6 separate regions of the Homo sapiens genome follow, and regions 2, 3, 4, 5 and 6 are each linked to region 1. Evidence: promoter capture Hi-C in 16 types of primary human blood cells and fetal thymus (Javierre and others, 2016). All regions are on one chromosome and are shown on one strand. Each heading gives the region's core, a stretch centred on a gene start or on the middle of the fragment in contact. The rest is flanking DNA. Distances are from core to core; before and after follow the strand shown.

Region 1 (2,922 bases), core at 120-2,619:
GAACATTCTTGAGCATATGGATTTTACAATAACAGCAGTGTATATTAGTTTTTTAATTTATCATTAACTGATAACATATACAGTAAAATATAATTTCCGTTTTCTTATCTAAGGGCAGAAAATCCCAACCTATTTCTGAATCTCACTTTGGAACAAGGACAGAATGACCTGACATGGCATTTTTGATTTCCAACGTTTAAACGCATAACGTTTGTGTGCTATGGAAGCATCTTAGCTTCTGGAATTTATGCTCGACACGAAACATAAACAATAAACAATTCAGTCCACGTTATATAGACATATCTCATATATATATGAGATATATATATATAAAATATCTTACGCACATGCACACTTAGACTTTCTCGGTTTTCATGAAACTCACAATCTACCTCAGGCGCTCAAAGGCACTCGGCCTCTCAGGTCTGAGGCACCACAGAGAGGCTTCCTTGGGCACAGTTGCTTGCTGGTCAAGACGCCAACTTGGCAAGGTTATGCTGCTGGCAAAGGCAGATTCGTCAGAATAAAGTCGCCACAGGCTCAACCAGGCAAATCATGAATGGCCCTTTCAGCAGGAGCCTGAGAGGAGGGATGTTATTCAGCCCAGCAACCCTATTTACTTTTTTTCAGGATCCCCAAACTCGCGTTTTTTAAGGCTTTCCGCTACAAGAGAGCCAGAATTGAAGCCTGGGTTGGCGGCAGTGCAGGTACCTGCTCACCTAAGCATCCCTCTTTTAATTTTCCTAACTCCTCCACCCACTTGCCCAAGTATAACTTTTGAATGGATTCAGCAGAAGTGAGGCAGGAAAGGCAGGAAGATGAGAAAAGGCGCGACATCAACACGCAGAGCTCACTGAGCCGCCTTGATGATAAAAGGCGGGCACAGGGACTACGTGGGTGGTGGCAGAAAGGGCGCGGGACACGCCTCGCAAAGAGGGAAGAGTGGGCGGGGCCACGTGCCGTTGTCAGAGTTCGCAACTCGAGCGCCCAGAGGGCTCGCGAAAAGTCCCAGCCTGCAAGCCAACCTCGCTCAGCGGACGACTGGCCGGATCCCAACGCGCTGCCCCTTGCCCAGCCTGCGAGCGCGTGGTACGAAGGCGCGTCTGCATCCATGCCCCAGCCCGGGGAGCTGGAGGCGCTCGCAGTCAGAGGCGAGTGATGCTAGGCTGAGCGCGTGGCGGCCCGTGTCGTGCCCCGCTGAGCCAAGTGCGGAAGGGCAGCGGCGCGCTCCGACTCTGCTCGCCGCACGCAGGGCGGGGCGCGGCTGGGGGGCGGGGGGCCTGGCCGCCCGCTGGGAGCTGCGGACGAGCAGGCGCGCTGAGGACCCGAGGGAGGACACGGTTAAAGCATTGCTATCAACTGTGAACCCAGAGAGCCCTCCTTAGCCAACACGCTAACTCCGAAGCCTCCCTTACGCCCCCGAACCACCGAAGGCGGCGACACCTGATTCAGCGCACAAACACAGGTCCCTTCTGTCCCGGATACAATTACGCGGCAGACACACACTCAAACTCGCGCGGGGCAGCCAAGAGACGAGGTGAGCGGAGGGACCACGCCGTTCCAGAGGGCGGAAGGGGGGGCGGTCTGGGTGGAGGAGAGGGGCGTTGTTTGCTCCCTGAGGTGAGTGCCGGGCGAATGGCTGCTGTCCAGGGGCGGGGGGGTGGGAATTAGAAAGCACAGACAGGGTTGGGCTGAGGAAGTTAGAAGTGGTTAGTGGGGGTTGGCGGGGTAGGGAGAAAGGCTAGGGGTTGAGGGGGTGTGAAGGAGATCTTTTTAGGCTGGCCCCTCATAGCGCCCGCGATCCTGTTTCTGCCATATGGCATCCGTTCGAGGGTTCTCTCGCGTTTGTGCGCTCAAGGCAGAGGGAGGGTATAACGGGGAGGCGATTCGGCCGAGGACCTTGTACTTGACCCCTGAAGGGATGGGCACCGCGGAGCCCAGAGGCCAGAGCCAGCTGCCAGGGCAGGGATGGAGGTGGGGGACCAGGAGGAGCTTCGGGACCTCTTCAACTCCCCTTTACTCCGTCTTCCCCCTAAGGAGGAACAAGAGCGGGATGTGTTGGGGGTGGGGAATGTCTTGGGGCTGTACAAGCTCGCTGAGACTTTTCGGGGCCCGCCGTTTCCGCGTGCCCGCGCGACTCTCGACAATGGACAGTGTACAGTGGTGGCAGGGTTTCACGGGTCCCCGCGCCGATTTGGGAATGGTACGGGGTGCCCTTGCATTAGAGAAGCCTGTGCGGGCCCCCGGGATTAGAGAAGAGGTGAGCGCCTGCGGGCGGGGAGAGAAGGACGCGCTGCTGGCAAAAAGAAGGGCGCCTTCCATGGACTGGAGGAGCGGCGAGGGAGCCTGGTATGTGTGTTTTGGATTTGAAGGAGGCAAACCGCATCGGAGAGTGCAAGTAGATGCAGTGCGTCGGGGCAAAAGGACAATCTGAGGAGGTGGGCGGGGTACCCAATCTCTATATACAAGCTTTCTGGTTTAATTGAGGGTTTATAAAATTGAGTACGGTAAACCTGCCATTGTGCAGCACTTCCTTAGGAAAGGAATAGCCTCTGTACCTGTACCGCGAGTTCCCATCACCTTTCAGCATCTAGGCGGGGAGAGGAGAGAAGGTAGAGAACTTCTGAGAGAGTTCTGAGAACTAACGCGAATGGCTGGATTGCGCTAACTAGGCGTTCTTAGCAGGAAAATGTCGCCAAGGGAAGGAGTGGGTGGCGGTATCAAACCAGGCGTGCTCTGGAGAATCACCTTTATTATGAGCCAGTGTTAGCAGTGACGATAGAGTCTTTTATTTCTGGGGATCCTATTGGTAAAAATTAGAAAAAAACCACACTACTCCAAATACTCCAAAAATCTTCAGTCCCCTCAGGCTGTCACCTTGTACTACCAGTTTTTCAGTATCAATGACGTGAATGTTAGGGA
Region 2 (2,922 bases), core at 149-2,648, 1.4 Mb before region 1:
CTGCCTGAGTAGCTGAGACTACAGGCGTGCGCCACCATGCCCAGCTAATTAAAAAAAATTTTTTTAGTATAAATGAGGTCTTGCTATGTTGCCTTCCTGGGCTCTAGCGATCCTCCTGCCTCAGCCTCCCAAAGTGCTGGGATTATAGGCGTGAACCACCACACCTCACCCACTTAAAGCTTCTTTTCCCTCTCGTACATTTCAGAGGTTGGCTAGAACACCAAGATTCTTAACCTGCAGAATTAAAATTAAAACCCCCTCCATTAAACTCTGCAGAGTGAATTGTTTCATTTAAGGACTTATGGGACATCAGTCTGAAAAATCTGTAAACCTAGTTTATAAAATTTTATCTTTCCCCCTTCGATTCACAGAGGATGAGATTAACATAATCCTTTGTAGACAATAGCACCTGTTTTCCTACGGTTAACTCATTGTTTAAAAATAAACCCATGTGGGAAACTTCTCTATGGAAAAGAACAAGTAATTTTAAATGTATACATTCAGTTTGGTATGAGACTATGCAGAATCGTTTATACTCTAATAAGAAAAGAGATTTTGGGTCATGGATTGAATTGTTAGGGCAATATTAGATTTTATCATCATAATGTGTTTGGTAAGGAAATTGGACTCATTTTAAAAGAAATGCACGGGACGCTTGGCAAACCAGAAACTGTTCCTTGATGCTGCTTTTGCTAAAACATATTTGAACTTGTCGAGGATTCATTTCATAAACAACAGACATTTAAAAAACTATTATGAATGGCAACAATCTTTGCCTTTGGAAGGTAAAATTTTATTTGGAAAAATACAGTGCTAATCAGAGCCAAGTCTGCTGACCAAGCCTTGAATGTGATAATATGGCTGTGGAAGATGTAGAGAGAGAAGTCAGGCACTCTGGTCTCTAGATGGGACACTAGTCTAATCTGGAGTAAACAAACAAACAAAAAAGTACAAGAATAAATTAAAAACATGGCCAGTTAACGTGGATTTCCAATGCCTCATGCATAATTGACAAAATGTGCATTGGTTCTGCTTGTAGTATAGTAAACAGCAATTCTAGCAGAAATTAAAAAACAAAACAAACTAACAACTGGCAATTCCACAGAAGTAAACATGTGAATTCACTATATGCAATAAATTTCTTACTTCGAACATAAAGAGGGAGTAAACATTTTTATAAGCATTTCTCTCTGGCACATCAAATACATTTTAAACAAATATTTAAAGAATATCTATTTGAAGCCCAGTGTGCTGGCTCACATCTGTAATCCCAGCTACTTTGGAGGCTGTAGCAAGAGGAGCACTCACAGGAGCCTAGGAGTTTGAGGCTGCCACTGTACAACCCCACCATCTATTATTTTTTGTCTTTTTAGTAATAGCCATTCTGACTGGTATGAGATGGTGTATAGTTGCCCATGTTAATATAGTGTATTCATTAAGCCAATTATTTTTGCCTGCTTAAGTGTTTATTACTATTTTTGTTTTTCTTTTCTTCTAAACTCTGTTGATATTTTAAAAATTAGGCTTACTTTTAATCATAGAATTGTAGAATTTCCTGGAAAAGAATCTCACTTAAACAGAAAAAAACTGAAGCCCCCAAATATTAAGTGAGTGGCTAATGCTCCCACAGTGAGCTGGAGACAGAAAGAGAACTAGAGTCCAAACTTTATGGCTTGGAATCTACTGGTTTCTGGTTTTTTTTTCTTTTTGTTATTTATTTTAATCACATCATAGGTATTTTTAATCTCTTGGCCTTTATTTTCACAAAAGGTTTAAATTATTTTTCATTGGTGTTAGTGTTGTGGCTGGTAAATTTTGATGTAGCAAATGGTAGAAAATCATTGGTACTGTTATGATTTATGTAAAATTTATTTTTCTTATTCCCAACATATTCTCAAGTGCCCCAGTAGCTGCAAACATAACTATAAGCAGCTCGTTTCTCTACCACTAAAAATTCCTAGGTTTCTTTGCAAGGTGAAAGAAACTCAATGTTTCAGTAAACCTTTTTTTAGTTAATATTTCTTTGCAATAGGATTCTTTAGTTGTTAATTAAATTGCATGAATCTCATGAGATATTGACACATACACACACCCCCCACAAATTTTTGATTCATTGAAAATACAGTCATTCCGTGTTAACACTAAACCAATATTGTGAAAATAGAAAAGGAAGACACTATATGAGGTGGCCAATTTTTTTTTTTGATGGTAAAAAATAATCTCTTCGTAAGTGGGCTACTATCTTGATAAATAACAAATTTTAATCGGTTAAAGTGATTAGTGAAGTTGAAAAATGCCTGCACATTTTGATTTCTGCAAAATTCAGAAACCTTGAACATTTTCTATTTTGTTTCTCCAAAACAGAAGGGAAATACCGCTCTTCACATTGCATCTTTGGCTGGACAAGCAGAAGTTGTCAAAGTTCTTGTTAAGGAAGGAGCCAATATTAATGCACAGTCTCAGGTATTCCATTCAGATTTTCCCTGATGTACATACATTTAAATTAGAACAGTTTTGTGAAATTGATTTAATGTGTTTAGCTAGCTGTTCTACTGATAAATTTATTATAAGTGCTTTGTTATTTATTTTAGCCAAATAATTTTATTAACCTTTATGATGAAGCTTATTTTTTCAACATATAATCTCCCTTTTAATGTAACTTAACACTGGAAAAATGTAAGTCTATCATTGTCTCTAAGTATTTTTCAAAAGAATATAAAGTGATTTTTTTCAGAATGACAGTGACATCTGTGAAATATGAATTATTCATGCAAGTTTCGTGTTACTCTATAAAAGTATTCTCTTTCCGTAAATTTAAAATATACTTGAAAGATTTACATTCCAGTGGAAAATCTGCCATAAGGTGGGAATAACACTACTTTGGTCAGTTTACACCCCTAATGTGAGCTTTACTAATAATAA
Region 3 (2,922 bases), core at 423-2,922, 1.2 Mb before region 1:
GAAACAAAAAGAGGAAGGTTTACAAGCTAGTGCAGAGAAAGCTGAACTTAAAAAAGGTAGTTCAGAAGAGTCATTAGGTGAAGACCCAGGTTTAGCCCCTGAACCCCTTCCCACTGTCAAGGCCACATCTCCTTTGATAGAAGAAACTCCCATTGGTTCCATAAAGGACAAAGTAAAGGCCCTTCAGAAGCGAGTGGAAGATGAACAGAAAGGTCGAAGCAAGTTGCCCATCAGAGTCAAAGGCAAGGAGGACGTGCCAAAAAAGACCACCCACAGGCCACATCCAGCTGCGTCACCCTCTCTGAAGTCAGAGAGACATGCGCCAGGGTCTCCCTCCCCTAAAACAGAAAGACACTCTACTCTTTCCTCTTCCGCAAAAACTGAAAGGCACCCTCCAGTATCACCATCAAGTAAAACTGAGAAACACTCACCTGTGTCACCCTCTGCAAAAACGGAAAGACATTCACCTGCGTCATCATCGAGTAAAACTGAGAAACACTCACCTGTATCACCCTCGACAAAAACTGAAAGGCACTCTCCTGTGTCATCTACAAAAACAGAAAGACACCCACCTGTTTCGCCTTCAGGCAAAACAGACAAACGTCCACCTGTATCGCCCTCCGGGAGGACAGAAAAACACCCGCCAGTATCGCCTGGGAGAACAGAAAAACGCTTGCCTGTTTCACCCTCCGGAAGAACGGACAAGCACCAACCTGTATCAACAGCTGGGAAAACTGAGAAGCACCTGCCTGTGTCACCTTCTGGCAAAACAGAAAAGCAACCACCTGTATCCCCCACTTCAAAAACAGAGAGGATTGAGGAAACCATGTCTGTTCGGGAGCTGATGAAGGCTTTCCAGTCAGGTCAGGACCCTTCTAAACATAAAACTGGACTCTTTGAGCACAAATCAGCAAAACAAAAGCAGCCACAAGAGAAAGGTAAAGTTCGGGTAGAAAAAGAAAAGGGGCCGATACTAACCCAGAGAGAAGCTCAGAAAACAGAGAATCAGACAATCAAACGAGGCCAGAGACTCCCGGTAACGGGCACAGCAGAATCCAAAAGAGGAGTTCGTGTTTCCTCCATAGGAGTTAAGAAAGAAGATGCAGCTGGAGGAAAGGAGAAAGTTCTCAGCCACAAAATACCTGAACCTGTTCAGTCAGTGCCTGAAGAAGAAAGCCACAGAGAGAGCGAAGTGCCCAAAGAAAAGATGGCTGATGAGCAGGGAGACATGGATCTACAGATCAGCCCAGATAGGAAAACCTCCACTGACTTCTCTGAGGTCATTAAGCAAGAGTTGGAAGACAATGACAAATACCAACAATTCCGCCTGAGTGAGGAGACAGAAAAGGCACAGCTTCACTTAGACCAAGTACTCACTAGTCCTTTCAACACAACATTTCCACTCGACTACATGAAAGATGAGTTCCTTCCAGCTCTGTCTTTACAAAGCGGTGCTTTAGATGGCAGTTCTGAAAGCCTAAAGAATGAGGGGGTAGCCGGCTCTCCGTGTGGCAGCCTGATGGAGGGGACCCCTCAGATTAGTTCAGAAGAAAGCTATAAGCATGAAGGCCTAGCAGAGACCCCTGAGACGAGCCCAGAAAGCCTTTCTTTCTCACCAAAGAAAAGTGAGGAGCAAACTGGGGAAACAAAGGAAAGCACCAAGACAGAAACCACCACAGAAATTCGTTCAGAAAAAGAGCATCCCACGACCAAAGACATTACTGGTGGCTCTGAAGAGCGAGGTGCCACAGTCACTGAGGACTCAGAGACCTCTACTGAGAGTTTTCAGAAAGAGGCCACTCTAGGCTCTCCCAAAGACACAAGCCCTAAAAGACAAGATGATTGCACAGGCAGCTGTAGTGTAGCATTAGCTAAAGAGACACCTACAGGACTGACTGAGGAGGCAGCCTGTGATGAAGGTCAACGTACCTTTGGTAGTTCAGCCCACAAGACACAAACTGATAGTGAGGTTCAAGAATCCACAGCCACCTCAGACGAGACAAAGGCCTTGCCGCTGCCTGAGGCTTCTGTAAAGACAGATACAGGAACTGAATCAAAACCTCAGGGAGTCATTAGAAGTCCCCAAGGGTTAGAACTTGCACTCCCTAGCCGAGATAGCGAAGTCCTCAGCGCTGTGGCTGATGACTCATTAGCAGTGAGCCACAAAGACTCTCTGGAAGCCAGCCCTGTGCTAGAAGATAACTCTTCACACAAAACCCCTGATTCTCTGGAGCCAAGTCCTCTGAAAGAATCCCCTTGCCGTGACTCTCTGGAAAGCAGCCCTGTTGAACCAAAGATGAAGGCTGGAATTTTTCCAAGTCACTTTCCTCTTCCTGCAGCTGTTGCCAAAACAGAACTCTTGACGGAAGTGGCCTCTGTGCGGTCCCGGCTACTCCGAGACCCTGATGGCAGTGCTGAGGATGACAGTCTTGAGCAGACATCGCTCATGGAGAGCTCAGGGAAGAGCCCCCTTTCTCCTGACACCCCCAGCTCTGAAGAAGTCAGCTATGAGGTTACACCCAAAACCACAGATGTAAGTACACCAAAACCAGCTGTGATTCATGAATGTGCAGAGGAGGATGATTCAGAAAACGGGGAGAAAAAGAGGTTCACACCTGAAGAGGAGATGTTTAAAATGGTAACCAAAATCAAAATGTTTGATGAACTTGAACAAGAAGCAAAGCAGAAAAGGGACTACAAAAAAGAACCCAAACAAGAAGAATCTTCTTCATCTTCTGACCCAGATGCTGACTGTTCAGTAGATGTGGATGAACCAAAACATACAGGCAGTGGGGAGGATGAAAGTGGTGTCCCTGTGTTAGTAACTTCGGAGAGCAGGAAGGTGTCTTCCTCCTCAGAAAGTGAACCTGAGTTGGCACAGCTTAAAAAAGGTGCTGACTCAGGCCTTTTACCAGAACCAGT
Region 4 (2,922 bases), core at 275-2,774, 1.2 Mb before region 1:
AGAAAACTAAAAGCTTCAAACTAGGGTTCTAATTCCTGTGCTGAGAGTAGCCAGACAGGAAAATAATATGTGAATTGTCTGAACATAGAAAATCAGGAGAGGGGCTGGCCTATGGCAAACTTAAGAGAACATGCCACATATTATATATATTGAGATAAATAGAAACCTTCAATTTATGAAGGTTTTAATGTAGGAAATAAAAATGTGAAAATGCAAAATATATCTAAGAGTTACCTTTTGAAATAATAATATTGATAATGGCTAGTAACATCATCAAGAGGTAAAAGAGAAAGTAGAAATATGCAATGATAAAAAAGAGAATGGAGGCTGAGTGCTGTGGCTCATGCCTGTAATCCCAGCACTCTGGGAGGCCAAAGTGGGAGGACTGCTTGAGCCCAGAAGTTCTAGACCAGCCTGGGCAATGTGGTGAAATTCCGTCTCTACAAAAAAATTTAAAAATTAATGAAATATGGGGATGCGTACCTGTGTTCCCAGCTACCTGGAAGGCTGGGGCAGGAGGATTGCTTGAGCCCAGGAAATTGAGGCTGCAGTTAGCTATGATCATACCACTGCACTCCATCCAGCCTGGGTGACAGAGCAAGACTGTCTCAGAACAAACAAACAAACAAAAACAAAAAAAGGGGGGGGAGATAATTAGAGAGGAAATAATAGATAATAGTAAGAAAATGTTACCTTATTTTTTGTAAGTAAATATAAAAACTCCAATAAGAGAGATGATTTTTAAAAGATAATTAATAAAATCTACCACAGAAGAGATAATAAAGGTAAACCCCAATAACCATAAAATAATTTGAGTCAGCAAATATTTAACCCCACAAGAAAGAATGAGATCTAGGTGCTGTCACAGATGGATTCTCTTAAACTCTCAATACACAGATAATTTTAATACTGAAACCACCAGAGACTCCCAGGAGAAAAATTCCTAGTTTATCTTGTTTTAAGACAGCAAGTATATCATTGGTACCCAAACTGGGCAAATTACATCAAAAGAACCTCAAAATAACACAACAAAAATTCTTAGACCAATTTCACTAAGGAATCTCTTTACAAAAATTACAAATAAAATATAATATAATTGACAATGCATTTTAAAAACAAACTATAAACAAATGGTTTCGTTCCAAGCAAAAATAGTTCATTAGTAATAGCTGTTAATGAAATTCCTCATATTGGAAGATTAAAGGAGAAACAACCACATACCAATGTTTCCATAGTTGGCCAAGAGGCATTTGGTGAAATTTAGCATCCATTTCATGTCCTTTTAAGAAAGTAGGAAGGGATGTATTCTTCCTGAAGGCAATCAAATTATGTATGTGTATGTGTATGTATGAATTGCATTTCCTTTACAAATGATCAAATAATCCTTTGTTAAGAGCACTTAAGTTACAATCATTTTAGCGTAGCTTTTGCAATAATTTGCAACAACAGAAAAAACCTTATCTCTGATTTCTCACCCAACACAACCACATCTCTCCTCTTGCCTGCCTTGTGCTGGCCCTCAGCATCACCAATTAAACCATTCATTTTTATTGTGGTTTTTTTTTTAATAAAGATGGGGTTTTACCGTGTCACCCAGGCTGGTCTCAAACTCCTGGACTCAAGTGATCCACCTGCCTCAGCCTCCCAAAGTGCTGAGATTACAGGTGTTAGACACACACCTGGCCTATCATTCCTTTTAAAATTGGTATCTAAATTGTTAGCTCATCTGCTTACAAGGTGATATCAGTTAGGGAGTATTTATGAATTCTTTCTTGTAAAAAGGTCAAAATCCTCATACATTTATTAAGAAACACAAAGAGAAAGCAAATTGAAGATTCTATTGTCACATAATACAGTTAGAAAGAATTTACTTTTAAGATGTAGTTCACAATTGATTTTGATTTTAACTAGAATTTGTGCTTCATCAGGAATACCTTTTACTTCATGCCTTTTTATCTTGTAACTTTTTTTTTAATTTAATTACGGGAACTAAGAAGGGGACACATGCTCCTCACACCAAAATTCATCTTGTTTGAAGATGAACACTGGGAGCATTTCTGCTTTAAAACTGAGAATAAGACAATAAAGTCCCCTATGTCCTTAGTGGCATAACATTAAAGGCAAAGTATTAAAGGCATAATATTAAAAAGGAAGTATTACTCAATTCAATACAATGGACAAAAAACAAGAAATACAGTATAAAAATAAAAAAAAGAATAGGTAAACATTGTCAATATGCAAACGATGTTTGTGAATCAGGAAAGCCAAAAGGAACCAACTGAAAGAAAAATTACTGTCAACCATTTGGTCACTCTTTTCAACTCATCATAGAATATGTCTAACTTTCCTTAACACACACACACACACACACACACACACGCACACACACACACACACACAGACCCCTCCAAATTAAAAATAAAAATGAAGGGAATTTTATATATCATTTACAATAGAGAATAAATGCCTAGTTATACATTTAGAAAGAGCCTATTTTAAAATGTTTCAAGTTTTTACTTCCATAAATGGAGGGACTTGCACTAACTTATATATATATAGGCATATAACAATTTAAATACATCAATTCCTTCTTAATTTATTTCTTAATTTAATAAGATCACCATAAAATTGCTTATAGGATTTTAATTTGAGTTGATAGGAAGAAAAAACAAGAATGTGAATTAATCAAGAAGATTCTATGGGTAAGAAAAAAAGGAATGTTGTCACCTGACTCAGTAGACCTACCGGATATTAAAATATATTTTAAGCCACTGTTTGTAAAACAGTTTAGTACTAGAGTAGCAAGAGACAGCGAGAGCAATGAAATAGGATGGGGAATCAATGGAAATTTGGCACATAATAAATACAGCATTTCAAATGAAGCCTAGACACTATAGTGTTAGGTCAAATGGCTGCTAATTC
Region 5 (2,922 bases), core at 190-2,689, 1.2 Mb before region 1:
GCTGGTCTTGAACTCCTGACCTCAAGTGATCCACCCATCTCGGCTTCTCAAAGTGCTGGGATTACATGGGTAAGCCACCGTGCCTGGCCCACAGACATTCTTAAAGTGTGATTCAAGAACATCCCGGGGTCCCTGAGACATTTTCAAGGATTGCAAGAGGTTAAAACTATTTTCATTATAATACTAAAACCTTAACTTCCTGTTTCATTCTTATTCCTTCACGAGTGTACAGTGTTTTCCAGAGGCTCTATAATGTGTGGCAAGGCTGGACACGGTGGCTTACACCTGTAATCCCAGCACTTTGAGAGGTCAAGGTGGGTGGATCGCTTGAATCCAGGAGTTCAAGACCAGCCTGGGCAATATGGCAAAACCCCATCTCTACAAAAGATATAAAAATTAGCTGGGTGTGGTGGTGGTGCATGCCTGTAGTCCCAGCTACTTAGGAGGTTGAGGTGAGAGGATCAGTTGAGCTCAAGGAGGTCAAGGTTGCAGAAAGCCATGATTGAGCCACTGCATTCCAGCCTGGGCCACAGAGTGAGACCCTGTCTTAAAAAAAAAAAAAAGTGTTGTGACATCATTCCTCTGAGAGCTAATGGACAATGTGCTTGAATATTTTTGTGTTTGAAAATTTTTTAGTTTTCATTTTTTTAAATGGCAAATATCAATAAATATAACCTACACAGAGAGAAGCTTTATGAGGTTATGAATTACATTTAGGAGTGTAAAGTGGTCCTGGGACGAAATTGAGAAACACTGCTCTAGGTTTCATAAATTCATCCTGTTTCCATTCCAGTTTTTAAATGGACAATGGCTATTCCATTTCTTGGGATTTCTCACTTACAAAATTAGCTGTTAGACTGGATAGCATCTATAAGCTATCCATTTATCTGGGCTTCTGAAAATGAGGCATTTCCTTTTCTTTCTTTCTTTCTCTCTCTTTCTTTCTCTTCTTTCTTCCTTTCTCTTTCGCTTTCCTTCTTTCCTTTTTTCTTTCTCTTTCTTTTCTTTCTTTCTTTCTTTCTTTCTTTCTTCCTTCCTTCTTCCTTCCTTCTTTTCTTTCTCTCTCTCTCTCCTTCCTTTCTTTCTCTTTCTTTCTCTTTCTTTCTTTCTTTCTTTCTTTCTTTCTTTCTTTCTTTCTTTTCTTTCTTTCTTTCTTTCTTTCTTCTTTCTTTCTTTCTCTTTTTCTTCTGCTAGTACCCATATAACAAAAATAACAGCTAAGGTGGGGTTATAAAGAAAAATGGATCCTTTTGCATTCTTGTGTCATTCTCTCTGATCTATACAGTAGTTCTGAAACCGATAATTTAGGCTGAGTAGCTCTATCAGGACTTTCAAACCTAAAAGATACGTAAGAAATGAGTGTGTCGCTCTTAAAGGTCAAAATGAAGAAACAACAACAAAACTAAAACAACAGCCTCAATAGCAAGGCCCATGTATAGGAAGATCTGGGAAGAATGTAATCAGGTATAAAGAACAAGTTGAGGACAGCATCTCAGAACTAAAGCTATGAATAGCAATATTGTTCTGGAATCTCTCTCCTGTGTGGTGCCTTGCACTTGTTGCCAGAGCCAAGCATGCTGGCTTAAAAAAGCTGCAGATGACTGGACAGTACAAAGGACCCTGGACATGAAATGAAGAAACCTGGATTTGTGATAAAATTTCGCCACTAAGTTAGCTTAGGTATGTAATTTTATCTTTCTGGTAATTTCTGCACTATAAATCATAACTGTTTTTGTAAGTTAAAATGGAATGGATGACTCAGTATTTTTGCCTCTGGCAATTTCCCTAAGGAAATAAGTGTCTGTGCAAAAAATTGGCTACAAGAATTACTTAATTGGCTTATTGTTGGTAGCATAAAATAAGAAAATGTACATGTTCAACAATAGGTGATTAAATAAATTGTGTATCATTTAGATAAACAGATTCCAGTGAAGCCACTAGCCATAACAGAAGCATATTTTCTGAAATAAAATTTATTGTTTATTATATGTTGGTAAGTGAAAAAGCAAGTTACAAAAAGGAATGTATAGTATGATCTTGTATTTTTTGTGTTTATGTAATTGGGAGAACAGGATACCCCCTTTTCTGTATGCAGATGAAGAATGATATGAACAAAAGATACTCAGCATTTCAAAATCTCTCTTATAAAATCATCATTAAAAGTATATAGTGCTCCATAGTTTTTCTGGTAAGCTTGAAGGGAAAGTAGAAAAGAAACCAAATACACTAAAAATGAGAGAGGACATTCATGATCATGGGACAGCCAGCAAAGTTTTTTTGTGGATGAGAAACACAATGATGGGATTAACCCAAAAGAGAAATATACTTGAAGTTTCATGTTGCTGAGACCTGGAGCTTCGAAACTCTCACCCCCTTTTTCCCTCACTTCCTTTTCACACTTTCCTGCCAAGTGGCATTATAGCATCAGCGAACGGATCACATTGAGCGAGGCCCAAGATGCTTCTCCAGCCTCGATGTCTCAACCCTGAGAATGGCTCTTGGGGAATGAGTAATAAATCAGATGGTGAAATCTCCCATGGCTAAGTGTGACTTGTTCCAAAAGTAGAGCATGTTTACTTGGATAAGTTTCAAGAAGGAGTTTTGTTGGCTAAAAAGCATGAATCTCTCAGAAGGCAGTGGAGCCAAGTTAGAAACTAGATATGATCCCAAAGTGAAATCTTCCGGGAAAGGGGCTCTCTCCTTCTGGGAACATTGTCTTTATCACAGTGCCTGTAACATAGTGGCTCCTTAATCAATGTTTCCTTTAGTTCTTATCTTCTGCCTGCAAGGAAGTTTTGTTTAATTTTGTTTTTCATCTCTACTTGCTAGCCAAATGACTCTTCGCCATTCTAAAGTGTCTCTTTTTCCATATCTCCTCATATGTACCTACATATACACGTGTGTATACATTGAGTTTTCCAT
Region 6 (2,922 bases), core at 133-2,632, 1.0 Mb before region 1:
CCATAATGTTCTGGGAAAATTCTTCAGAGATATAAAATTTCCAGGTATTTCTTATACACATCTAAACTGTTTAAAATCTGAGGTCACAATTAAACAGGTGTTGAAACAAGAGGGTAAACACAGATGAAGTGGCAGGTGAAACAAGGGTCAAAAAAAATGGAGGGACACATTTACCATTTCGCCTTAGAAGCGTTGCTTTTTGTAAAGTATATAACAGGAAAACAAATGCAAGTCTCCAACAATAAAGGGAGAATTTAAAGTAAACTCATGAATAAAATAAACCCCTCTTTAGTGTAAGAATACTTTGGGGAAGAGCTAGGGAGCTTTCAAAGAATAAATAAATACAAATTTACAATCCCCTGGAGCATTGGTAATTATTAAACCCACTTCCATACACTTCAGTGAAGAAAAACTTTTGCTTCATACTATATCAAAATGCACATTTTATGCTATTCTTATTAAGGGTTCACTGATATCAAATGGGACTGCTAATTAGAGAGGAGAAATCCTTGTTTGGCACCTATAAGGTCCTGTGAACTGTCATCTGACATATAATAATGCAGAACACATCACACTGATGAATTTTGTATAAGTTCACTGTGCAATTCAAATGCAAGTACATCCTGAACTACATTTATTCATTGAAAGATGAAGCAAACATTTTAATAAGGACATTTTCAACCACTTAATGTATAAAATAATATTATTCTAAAGAAAAATCTTGAATTTAAAAAAGTAATCACCATCTGATTTATTACAATGTAAATATTTTAAAAATTGATCATGACTATGATTTTCTAGCTCTTTTATTAACAATACCACTAAAAGCGTCTCACATTCATTGCTGTTGACTACATTGTTTATTTGAGTATTGGTCATTATTTTTAAACCATAGGAATCTTTTTTCTTTTACAATAATGTTCACTTTGCACTACTCTTTAAGAATATTTCTCTTCCTGTTCTCAAACAACAAGCATAAATTATTGAATCTTGGGAATAACAGAAGATAAAGAAGTAAACAATAACACATACTAAATGGACTTCACCATTTTTTTTACTAGTGAGAATGGATTCAATTCTTAAATTTTTGAGAACTAGTAAAAAATTTTTACAATTTTTTGACAATCAAATAGCCTCTTTTGAGACAGGGTCTCACTCTGTCGCCCAGGCTGGAGTGCAGTGGCATGATCTCTGCAGCCTCCACCTCCCAGGTTCAAGTGATTCTCCTGCCTCAGCCTCCTGATTATCTGGGACTACAGGTGCATGCTGCCACACCTGGCTAAGTTTTGTATTTTCAGCAGAGACAGGGTTTCACCATGTTGCCCAGGCTGGTCTCGAACTCCTGGGCTCAAGCAATCCTCCCACCTTGGCCTCCCAAAGTTCTGGGATTATAGGAGTGGGCCACCACATCTGACTGAGAAATAGCCTCTTTATGTATTTAGAAGGGAATGTTCCTTCTCTTTGATTTTATCGGAGAGCTTTCATAAAAAATATCTTAGAGCTCTTTAGCAGTAAAAATAGTCTCTATTTTAATTTCAACCAGTATTTTTCAAACCAAGTAACAGCCTGCTTAACATAACTTTGAAGGGTAACATTAATGAAATTCCCTAGTTTAGTACCTTGATTAAAAGTATTACTGTTTCTTGGCAAGTGGCCAAATAGCTACTTCCAGAGGTTCCCCATGGCCCCTTTCAGGACCCTAATGTGGGGATTTGGGGTAAACTGAGCAAGTGATGATTCACTCATCATAGTATAAATTACACAGAATTTTCTATTTGACTTTGGCCATAAAAATTCCATTAAAAAATTAGAGCGTAGTCATGTACAGATAGATTCACAAAGTGCCATAAACAGTGCATTAAACCAAGAAGAAAAATTAGAAACTTAGAAGTGTGCCTCTGAGGGCAAGGAGGGGCTGGGAACCTTAATATCAGCTGGACATCTGTTGAGGGTCAGGCTACAATGGGATTAGCAAGCCTTGGGAAGCTCTGATGGCATTGGAGAATGGGAGCAGAGTCAATCTCTGCTCCCAAACATCTCATTTACATTGCTAATAATGAGCCAATCACTCTTGATCAGATTTTTAAAAATAAATGACAGCTACAGAATATATAAAAGTACACAGGAAAATTTACACCATGCAATCCAGTAACATCTAAGCAAGTGGTTAATGTTACTCCACTCCAAAAGTGTTGCCTTGGATAGCCTAGGAAGTTGCAAATTAGACAAAAAACTTAGCCTTTTTTAAACTTTTGTAAAGATTTTGCCAATTAACAAGATTGAAAAATTACTCTTGAACTCTCTTAAATGCCTGAATAAATATATTTCAACTCAGGGGTTCAAGGGTTTTAATGAAATTTCCAAAGAGTTAATTAGCTAATAATAGTTCCTTAAAGAGACCACTGAGACTTTTTTCAGGCTGTTTCTGTTTTCTGATTAGATATTCATTGTTCAGTAGAACTTTCTGTGATGATGAAAATGTTCTATATCTGGTCTGGCCAATTGGTAGCTACTAGACACTTGTGGCTACTAGGCAGTTGGCTAGACCAACTACATGGTTAGACCAACTGAGAAATAAATTTTTAATTTAATTTAATTTTAATTAATTGAAATTGCAATAGCCACATGTGACTACTGGCTACCACTGGGCAACCTAGAATCTATCTAGGGATTAGAGGATTTCAATCTTTGATCTCTGACTTTCACTAAAAAATATATTGCTTTAGCAGAAGTCATTCCAATTAGGTGGGGTGTTTTGGTTTGTTTTTCCTTGTTGTTTTTGATAAAATATGTAATCTAACTACAGATGCTAGATAAAAATATAGACCAGATTCATGGAGTTTTTTTTCTCTAAGAATCATCCCGGAGATCCTTAAAACATTTGTTTGTACAAACATGCATTTGTAAAGAAATATGCTGAAA

The links. Contacts are between HindIII fragments. The CHiCAGO score rates a contact against its expected background, and 5 or more counts as called.
Region 2: a fragment that was not itself captured here is called in contact with the fragment with the promoter of UGT8 in region 1 in 1 of 17 cell types (M1 macrophages); the score reaches 7.1 in M1 macrophages.
Region 3: a contact is called between a fragment that was not itself captured here and the fragment with the promoter of UGT8 in region 1, in 1 of 17 cell types (activated CD4 T cells). The highest score is 5.7, in activated CD4 T cells.
Region 4: a contact is called between a fragment that was not itself captured here and the fragment with the promoter of UGT8 in region 1, in 1 of 17 cell types (naive B cells). The highest score is 5.3, in naive B cells.
Region 5: a fragment that was not itself captured here is called in contact with the fragment with the promoter of UGT8 in region 1 in 1 of 17 cell types (total B cells); the score reaches 6.0 in total B cells.
Region 6: a contact is called between a fragment that was not itself captured here and the fragment with the promoter of UGT8 in region 1, in 1 of 17 cell types (total B cells). The highest score is 5.5, in total B cells.

The regions. Positions count from the first base shown.
Region 1 is chr4:114,597,438-114,600,359 of GRCh38, forward strand. UGT8 (UDP glycosyltransferase 8) reads left to right here and starts at 1,370. Exons shown (of 6, transcript NM_001128174.3): 1 at 1,370-1,537. The HindIII fragment of the contact is 2,701 bases long and covers 1-2,467 here.
Region 2 is chr4:113,196,647-113,199,568 of GRCh38, forward strand. ANK2 (ankyrin 2) reads left to right here. Exons shown (of 46, transcript NM_001148.6): 4 at 2,365-2,463. Among named protein-coding and RNA genes, the nearest start is that of MIR8082, 46 kb to the left of the region's middle. The HindIII fragment of the contact is 2,443 bases long and covers 178-2,620 here.
Region 3 is chr4:113,353,754-113,356,675 of GRCh38, forward strand. ANK2 (ankyrin 2) reads left to right here. Exons shown (of 46, transcript NM_001148.6): 38 at 1-2,922. Among named protein-coding and RNA genes, the nearest start is that of MIR8082, 200 kb to the left of the region's middle. RefSeq lists enhancers at 22-1,221, 1,651-2,850, 2,198-2,417. The HindIII fragment of the contact is 3,438 bases long and covers 1-2,922 here.
Region 4 is chr4:113,390,219-113,393,140 of GRCh38, forward strand. LOC105377374 (a long non-coding RNA gene) reads right to left here. Exons shown (of 5, transcript NR_199847.1): 4 at 484-603. Among named protein-coding and RNA genes, the nearest start is that of MIR8082, 240 kb to the left of the region's middle. The HindIII fragment of the contact is 3,026 bases long and covers 12-2,922 here.
Region 5 is chr4:113,442,920-113,445,841 of GRCh38, forward strand. No RefSeq gene overlaps it. Among named protein-coding and RNA genes, the nearest start is that of MIR8082, 290 kb to the left of the region's middle. The HindIII fragment of the contact is 1,503 bases long and covers 689-2,191 here.
Region 6 is chr4:113,549,057-113,551,978 of GRCh38, forward strand. The region is part of intron 5 of CAMK2D (calcium/calmodulin dependent protein kinase II delta); the gene reads right to left. Among named protein-coding and RNA genes, the nearest start is that of CAMK2D, 210 kb to the right of the region's middle. The HindIII fragment of the contact is 5,372 bases long and covers 1-2,922 here.